Regions from separate parts of the Homo sapiens genome. Here region 1 is linked to region 2. The links are contacts of gene promoters, found by promoter capture Hi-C in human tissues and cell types (Jung and others, 2019). All regions are on one chromosome and are shown on one strand. The core of a region is centred on a gene start or on the middle of the fragment in contact, and the rest is flanking DNA. Distances in the headings are between cores, read along the strand shown.

Evidence for each region. The method cuts DNA at HindIII sites, captures the fragments that hold promoters and counts their contacts. A contact is called where the count stands out against the background at its distance.
Region 1: a fragment that was not itself captured here is called in contact with the fragment with the promoter of GSC2 in region 2 in 1 of the 25 tissues and cell types used here (lymphoblastoid cells).

The regions. Positions count from the first base shown.
Region 1 is chr22:19,575,512-19,579,994 of GRCh38, reverse strand. No RefSeq gene overlaps it. Among named protein-coding and RNA genes, the nearest start is that of LINC00895, 11 kb to the right of the region's middle. The HindIII fragment of the contact is 6,571 bases long and covers 1-4,483 here.
Region 2 is chr22:19,148,013-19,152,196 of GRCh38, reverse strand. It overlaps GSC2 (goosecoid homeobox 2), which reads left to right and starts at 1,905. Exons shown (of 3, transcript NM_005315.2): 1 at 1,905-2,172; 2 at 2,281-2,534; 3 at 3,102-4,184. The coding sequence starts at 1,914. The coding sequence ends at 3,206. RefSeq lists an enhancer at 2,454-2,953. The HindIII fragment of the contact is 19,488 bases long and covers 1-4,184 here.

The sequences.
Region 1 (4,483 bases), core at 1,608-4,107, 430 kb before region 2:
CGGCCAGGCCCGGGAGAACATGGGCTCCACCAGCTCACCCCCTCCACAGCCTTTCCTTCAGAAGCCTCGCTGTGGACACAGACTGAAACAGGCCGTGTGGTGGTGGGAGGGGTGTCATTATATTATTCTATTTGTGTGTACATTTGTGTGTTTTCATAATGAAGTTGGTATTTTTAAAAAAGAAGCCTCTCCTCCCTTTTTTCTCCTTGGTATTTTAAACCATCCAAATATTAAGAATGCTCTCTAAAGACAATCAAAACAGCAAGCATCTCAACAGTAATAACTTCACCCCACTGAGCTGAATTAGGCCAGCAAAGGTCTCAGAAATGAACTCTCTACCTTCGTTCACTCAACACATCTTTGACCTTTGGGAAAGTACCCCGTGCCAGTGTGCCAGGCCCTCTTTTACCTCCAAAGAGCAGTGGAGACTGGGCGTCCTACTGGGCAGTAGATGTGGGCAGAGCCCCACAAAGAGCAGAGTCTGGCAAGGGGGGTCCAGGCCAGCTGGGGCAGAGGCCTTGCAGGCACTGGGACAGACTGTGGCCTGCACACAGGGAAATGGGACCCTGCCTGCACACAGGGCTGACTCACCACACACCAGCCACAGTTTGCTATATGACCAGAGGGTAAAGAGAGACCCCACCCAACTGGGGCCTTCAGGCACCAACTAGAGGACAGGAAGAACCCAGCTGGAGGCCCTCTTGCCTCAGCCAACAGGCGCCAGTGGTGAGCACAAGGAAGACAGAACACAGGCCATCCCCAGGGTGGGGACAAGGAGGAGGAAGCTCAGCCTCCAGCCCCAGGGACAGGGCCCCTTGAGACCCCAGGAGGGAGTGACCTAGTCTCAGGGTCCCTTTTCTTCCCAATTCCAGCAGTGTCAGAACTGCCAGGTACAAGAAAGAGCCACGCAGTCCTCTGGGCAGCAGAAACCCGAGGCTCAGTGAGAGCAGTGACCCAGGAGAGCCAGCTTTCCACGCGCAGGCTGGAGCCACTCGCTCCTTCTGGCCACACATAAGTTACTGAGCATCTGCTCACCAACAGCTTCCTTTTGTTAGGAAGTGTGGAAGTGGCATCTGAGCAGACTTGGGGGAAGTGAGTGGGTGTGGGGCCTGTTCCAGACCCAGAGAGCACCCAGTGCAAAGGCCCTGTGGCAGGAGCATGCCTGGTCTCCTGGGGACCGAGCGGCCAGGGTGTGGAGAGCGGCAGCAGGCAGCACAGGCCATGGCCACTTTGGGACCTTTGACTGTGAACAGAAGCCACAGCATGGTGTGGAGCAGAGGAGCAACATAATCTAGAGAGGTGGTTTTTTGTTTTTGGTTTTGGTTTTTTTTTTTTTTTAAGAGACAGGGTCTCATCTGTCACACAGATTGGAGTGCAGTGGTGCAATCATGGCTCACTGCAGCCTCGAACTCCTGGGCTCAAGCAATCCCCTCCTGCTTCAGCATTCCCAGCAGCTGGGACCCCAGGCACGCACCACCACACCCGGATATTTTTTAAATTTTTTGTAGAGACCGAGTCTTACTATGTTGCCTAGGCTGGTCCCAAACCGCTGGCCTCAAGCCATCCTCCTGCCTCAGCCTCCTGGCTACACAGAGTCAGTCACTTCTTATCTTGCACACAACTGGAGAGAAAATCCTTGACTGAAAGATGCCTGGCTTTGCTCTGTCACTCACAGCGCTTCCCTTGCACAGCACCTGATAGGACGAGTGCCAGGATCAGGGTTCTTGTGACATTGTGAGGCCAATTATGAAATCTAAGGAGACTAGGGACTTCCAGTTTCATTAACTTGATTCTTCTGTTAGGAAGAAAGTACCTAGATTAAAATAATTCACCCTAAGATGTGAATGAATGAAAATGAATGTCAAAACCCTCTAGAGAACTTTAACAAGGCATCAATTCACGGAAAGCCTAACTGGTAAAATTAGTAGAATATATCTCAGACTGTCTACAACATCAAAGGAGAAGCGTGTCTATATTGAGGGAATGGGTTCAGGAGAGACACCAACAGGGGAGCTCATGTTCCGTGTCTCTCTAGATTACAGGATCCAGAGGTTCTATGAGTGGCCATCCCTGATCACCCCCAGTTCCCAACTGACCCAGACCACGGCCTCCCAATCCCTGCATCGGCCCTTTAAGCTCCCAGGGTGGCTGTGACTCCTTGGGTATCAGCTTGCTCGGCGTCCTGCCTCTGATGCCCTCCGGATGCATCCCTGGGGACTGCGGCTCATGGGCCCCACGGAGGCAGGAGGAACTGACCTCGCCAAACCCTAGCCAGGCTGTCACCTGGCCCAGACCGCCTTGGTCTGGATGTCTGCCGCAGCCTGGGCTCTGCTCACCACTCTAAACACAAGTGGCCACATACCATCTGATTCCACTTACATGAAATGTCCAGAAAGGGCAAATCCATAGGGACAGAAAGTAGACTGGTGGTTGTGAGAGGCTGGGAGAGGCTGAGAGAGGAGGTAGGTGAGGGGGAAATGGGAGTGACTGATTCATGAGTACTGGGCTTCTTTTGGGGCCATGCAAATATTCTAAACTGGATGGTGATGGTTACACAACTCTGTGAACAGACTAAAAATGATGGAAAACTCTACTAAGAACTCTTCTTCCGAGGGGTGAATTGTAGGGTATGTGAATCATATCTCAGTAAAGCTGCTGCAAAGCAAGCAGAGAGAGAGGAGGGAAGTAGGAGAGGCTGGCGGCCCCAGGAGTAGGGCTCAGGAACCAGCTACGGAGGCTGGGAGGCGGGGCCAGAGCCAGTCGGAGGCACAACCAACTGCAGGCAGCTTGGACAACCCTGAGGGCGCTTCCAGCTGAACTGTGGAGTGTTTGGCAGAAGCAAGAGCAGGGGGCCAAGCTTCTGGTGATGGCCTGGGCCCTAGACACCCCCTCCCCTAACAAAACCCAGAAAGGAGTGACTGGGAGAGAAGGCATAGTCAGGAGCATCACTCCCACGCCTGGCCTCCCCACCACCAAGCCTGCCTGGCCTCCCCAGCACCAAGCCCACAGGCACGGCACACTAGCAACCGCCCAGAATGACTCACACCTTCCTGTGACATTGTCTAATATGAACTGCCCAGGGTCTTGAAGCACCGAGCACTGGGAGATCCCCGTGTCCCCAGGAACTGTACTCTGCATTTTCAAATAGAACATTTTCATGATATGTTGATGGCCACTCTTTTCCCTGACTGGCCATCTGAGAAACTGAACAGAGGTGAGGTTACGGCACCCCCCAAAGGTGACCAGAGAAGCTCATCACTGACAGCCCAGGGGAGCCCTTTTGGGCCCGACACAGAGTGTCACCCTCTGAAGCTGTCACAGAATCAGAGACTAGGGCTCTGTCACCTCACACCTCGGGAACACTGCAGGGGTGCTCTGCAGCAGCATGTTTCTCTCTCTCTCTCTTTTTTTTTTTTTTTTTGAGACAGAATCTCACTCTTGTCCAGGCTGGAGTGCAGTGACATGATCTTGACTCACTGCAACCTCCACCTCTTGCGTTCAAGCAATTCTCCTGCCTCAGCCTACCGAGTTAACTGGGATTACAGGCACCACGCCCAGCTGTTTTGTATTTTTGGTAGGGACGGGGTTTCCCCATGTTTGCCAGGGTGGTCTCAAACTCCCGACTTCAAGTGATCCGCCCGCCTTGGCCTCCCAAAGTGTTGGGACTACAGGCATGAGCCACCATGCCTGGCCTGCAGCATGTCTCTTTTTTTTTTTTTTTGAGACGGAGTCTCTCTCTGTCACCCAGGCTGGAGTGCAGTGGCGCAGTCTCGGCTCACTGCAACCTCCATCTCCCAGGTTCACACCATTCTCCTGCCTCAGCCTCCCGAGCTGGGACTACAGGCGCCTGCCACCATGCCCGGCCAATTTTTTGTATTTTTAGTAGAGATGGGGTTTCACCATGCTAGGCAGGATGGTCTCGATCTCCTGACCTCGTGATCCACCCATCTCGGCCTCCCAGAGTGCTGGGATTACAGGCGTGAGCCACTGCGCCCGGCCCAGCATGTCTCTTAAACGCAGGGGCCACGAGCAGAGCTGTCAGAATGCTTCAGAGGAAAACAAGTGGGGCCCGGTGACAACTCACACAAGACACTGGGGGTGACACGGAAGAAGGGGACCCTCCAGGGCTGCTTTTAAGTTGGGGGCATTCTTAGAATTAAGAAGCTGTCAATCAACTGCCAGATCCTGCAAAGAACTGTTTCAACTCCATTAAGGAAAAATAAAGGAAACCCAAAAGAAAAACAGACAGAGGATACAATGTTCTCATGAAGATTGCCTGTAACCAATAAACATTTTAAAAGATGCTTAAAGTTGCAAGTCATGGATAGAATGTAAATTAAGGCATCAATAAGACAACCTTTTTCACCCAACAGATTAGGTTAAATCTAGTGCTGGAGAAAGTGTGGGGAAACAGGCATTCTCAGGCCACGGAGCAACATCTGTTAAAACTCTAAAAGGTTGGGCAGGCGTGGTGGCTCATGCC
Region 2 (4,184 bases), core at 656-3,155:
GGCAAATAGGTAGAAGAGAATGAGCACTAGAGATGGACAGGTGGGCAGTGGCCCATTTGTAAAAGTGGAGAACATAGGGTAAGAAAGGGATTTTGAGAAGACCTTGAGTTCCTTTCTGGCATGGTGACTGGGAGAACTTTATTGGTAGTGGAGATGGAGATGTGGAGCAGGCTCCAGAAACAAGAGCGTGGAGCAGAGAGAGAGGCCAGGCTGGAGGTGCACTTGTGAGTCACTGTCACAAAGATGGTGTCTGGAGCTCCAAGGCTGGAATAGGTATTGAGGGTGAGAATGGGAAAGGATGAAGGAATGGCCAGGGCTAGGAGGAAGAGGGCTCAGCAAATGTTGGGCTGGCTCTCCTGACCAATGACCCTGCCTCCCCCATCATAGCAGCACTCTGATTTTGGAGGATGGTCCAGATGCAGTTCTGTGAGGGAGGTCTGCTGAGGGAGGAGGGATCCATGGCCATCCAAAGGGCCATGGGAGGAGATGAAAAGTGTGGGGCTGTGGCAGCCATTCTACCACCAAGAGGTGGGTGGAGGAGGGGTTGACAGAGCCACTCATGGAGGTGGCAGCTCATCACTGAGCCTCCAGACTACCCCTGGGAAACCTATGTGGGAGCTCTTGTGACAGAAATTAAATCAGCAGGTTCGGTCACAGTGATGTCCACAGCACTTTCACTGATAGCAGAGTGGGGATGGCAGAGTCTTGCAGAGGGGCTGGCGGCGGGAGGAGCGCAGGAATACGCATTGCCCTGGGGAGGCGGCCAGGTTCTAACCGTCTCACACCTAGTCACTACACTTTACAGATTGGGAAAGCCAAGCCCAGAGGCTGAAGACGCCTATGGAGGTCACACGGCCAGAAATTGACAACGGAGTATGAGCCAGGCCGTCTGTTTCTCTGTGCTATGAGTCCCATACTGTATTTTCAAAGGTCAAGAGGAAAGGGTCTTAAGCTGAAGTGACGGTCCCGCTGCCAGGAGCCGCTTCACTGAGGGTGAAACAATGTAGCCAAGTGCGGGTCACCTGCGCTGTGGCAGAAGGGACCGAGGACGGTGTGGCCAGAGGACTGGCCTGGGCGGAGAGCGAGGAGGGGGAGCCCACAGCTTCTGGGGGGCAGTGACAGTGCGGGGAAGGGCGAGGTGCAGTGTTGGATGTTTTCGCGGGGATTCTGGGACCAGTGGGAAAGCTGGAGGACAGGCGGCTCTGAAGCACCGAGGAGGGGCCTCGGAAGGGGCGGGGAGGTCTCCTTGACACAGGTGAGGAGACGGAGAACTGGGGGCACCCGGCAGCCCAGGCTTCCTGCCGCGCTCTCACGCCCTCCAGGGCCATGAGACCCTGGCTCCGAGGTGGCGGGCAGGTTCGGGACCCGAGCGCGGCGGGATCGTGCGGTTGCCGGTGGTGCTGGGCCCCATGGAGGCTGCGGTCCAGGAGTTTCGGGTGGGCGGCTAGGCCGAGCTTCTGCAGGCGTGCTGAGCCGCCGCAGTAGGGCCCCAGAGGGGACGAGGAATTAGGCCCAGCCGAACGAGGGGGAGCCACCAGAGGCTGGGCCGGGAGGCACCGCCGCGCTCTGGGGAGCTGCCAGGGTCGGGGCGCCCTCCGAGCGGCTGCCAGGCCCCGCGGGCGGCGGCGAGGCGGCCCTCCGCCCCTTCCCCGCAGGTCGCCCTGCCAGCTTGAGCGGCGGGCGCGGGTGGGGCAGGAGGACGCGGGGCGGGGTGGGGGGCACAGGGGGCCCTCTCTGCAGCGCCCCCGGCCCCCGCGCGCGGAGGCAGGGCCGCCGCAGTCGAGGATTAGCGCGTTCGCGGCCGGCGCTGCGGGATTAACCCGCGTGGACTGGACGCCCGGCCCGGGGATTACTGCGCGCTCCCTCCCCGACGTATATATTCCCGCGGCGGCGGCGCCCCGGCCGGGCCGGGCATGGCGGCAGCGGCTGGGGGCGCGGCGAGCCGCCGGGGTGCCGGGCGGCCCTGCCCCTTCTCCATCGAGCACATCCTCTCCAGCCTGCCCGAGCGGAGCCTCCCGGCCCGGGCCGCCTGCCCACCGCAGCCCGCCGGTCGCCAGAGCCCCGCGAAGCCAGAGGAGCCCGGGGCGCCCGAGGCTGCGCCCTGCGCCTGCTGCTGCTGCTGCGGCCCCCGCGCGGCGCCCTGCGGGCCCCCAGAGGCGGCCGCCGGGCTGGGTGAGTGGGCGCGGAGCGGGGCGCGGGGCCCGGCGGAGCCCGGGGCGCGGCGCAGTGGGTGCCGAGCTTGGCCCCAGCCCCGCGCCTCACCGCGCCCTCGCTCCGCAGGCGCTCGTCTGGCGTGGCCGCTGAGGCTGGGACCGGCGGTGCCCTTGTCTCTGGGTGCGCCAGCCGGAGGTTCCGGGGCGCTCCCGGGCGCGGTCGGCCCGGGTTCGCAGCGGCGCACGAGGCGCCACCGCACCATCTTCAGCGAAGAGCAGCTGCAGGCGCTCGAGGCGCTTTTCGTGCAGAACCAGTATCCTGACGTGAGTACGCGCGAGCGCCTGGCCGGCCGCATCCGCCTTCGCGAGGAGCGCGTGGAGGTGAGTGCCCCGCCCAGCCTTTCCCCGGAGCGCGCGGGCCGCGGCTACACTGGACTGGGGTCCTGGCGGGCGGGCGCCCTTTGCAAAGACGGCCTCGGCCCAAGCCCCGCCCTGGCGCGCCGGAGGGAGGAGGTCCCTGGACGGCGCTGGGCGTCCGGGGGTATGAGGAGCGGGTGAGAGCAGGGAGGTGCCGCGGGAAAGGAACCGGAGGGCTACTTTTCTTTTCTTTTGTTTTACACTTTCCTCTGGTGACGAAAGAGGCCCGCGTTCACGTCCAGAATTTGGGAAATTCAGAAGAGCCCGCAACCCAAGAAGGGGCGTCCTGGTCGCCGCCAGCTGGAGGCTGGGGCGGGTACTAAGGGGGTTCCCATCTCGCGTCCAGACCCACCGAGTCTGTCCGCAGCGAATAAGGGCAGGTGGCGCGCAGCCGCGGCCCGGGTGTCGGCTCTACAGCGCCGTCCGCCCACATCCCTGTTGCGAAGCTCCCCTCTCGGTCCCTGTGGGACCCTCGGGAGCCGGTGGGACGCAGGACCTGGGGCTAGGGCTGAGCATTCCCCCCATCCCCAGGTCTGGTTCAAGAACCGCCGGGCCAAATGGCGACACCAGAAGCGCGCGTCGGCTTCCGCGAGGCTCCTGCCCGGCGTCAAGAAGTCCCCGAAGGGGAGCTGCTGATGACTCTAGGAGCTGCCCCTGGGCTCGGCCACCCTTTTTGGGATCTTTGGAGTTGGCGCTGAGAGAAGACAGGTCTACCCGAAAAGGAGCTGGGAGAGTACACCGGCCGCCTCCACCCGTCTCCACAGCCCTTGCCTCCTGCAGCTCGTGCTGCCGTGGCGCTGGGGACGGGCCCCCGGTGCTTGGTGTTCCACGGCAGTGGGAGTGGCGAGTCCCTTGGGGGTGGGCTGGGGCATAGAGCAGTTTCCTCAGCTCCCTACCCCCCGAGAGACACTAACTCCACCGCAGGAGGGGAACCACCCCGTATCAACACGGGACCCAGAATCCTACGCAGTGGAGCGTCTCTCCGCACCCTGGGACATGCTGGCCACCCTCTTCTCAATGTGGACATTGACCTAACTTGACCTGGCTCGTCCTCCCCCAGCGGGAGAGGGGATGGGGTTCGTGTCTGTGCAGTCCTGGCGTTGCAGGCTTCCCAGGCCCTGGGCTGGGTCTTGGTATCTGGACCTGTAGAATAAGAAGGTCGCAGGAGCGATTCCAGGAGCCCCTCCACAGTCCCTTCACCTTCGAGCCTCGCGCTGATACTGAGAAACTAGCAACTTCAAATACCACAGAAGCCGCCCAGAGTCTCAAGTCCACCTTGGCTCCACTCCCACACCCAACAAGGAGCTGTCCCTTCTTCTTCCTTCCCAGCGAGGGGGTATTTAGGGTACAGCTGTCTTTGAGAGGAGCACAGCTCAGCGATCCTCAGTCTCTGCACCAGGGTGCTCCCCAGCAGAGGGGACTGCTCCACGGATGGTGGCCTTGGACCCCTGGGGTCCAGCCCTGGCCTCTAGGCTACTGTGAACCTGCCCATGGGTGAGGGTCCCCTGCTTCCTCCTGGGGTTTTCATGCTGTGGGCTCGGACTCCCTCACAGCAATCTGTGCCATCCTAGGGTAGGGCAAGAGGAGGTTGGACTGGGGAGACCCCGCCCCTGC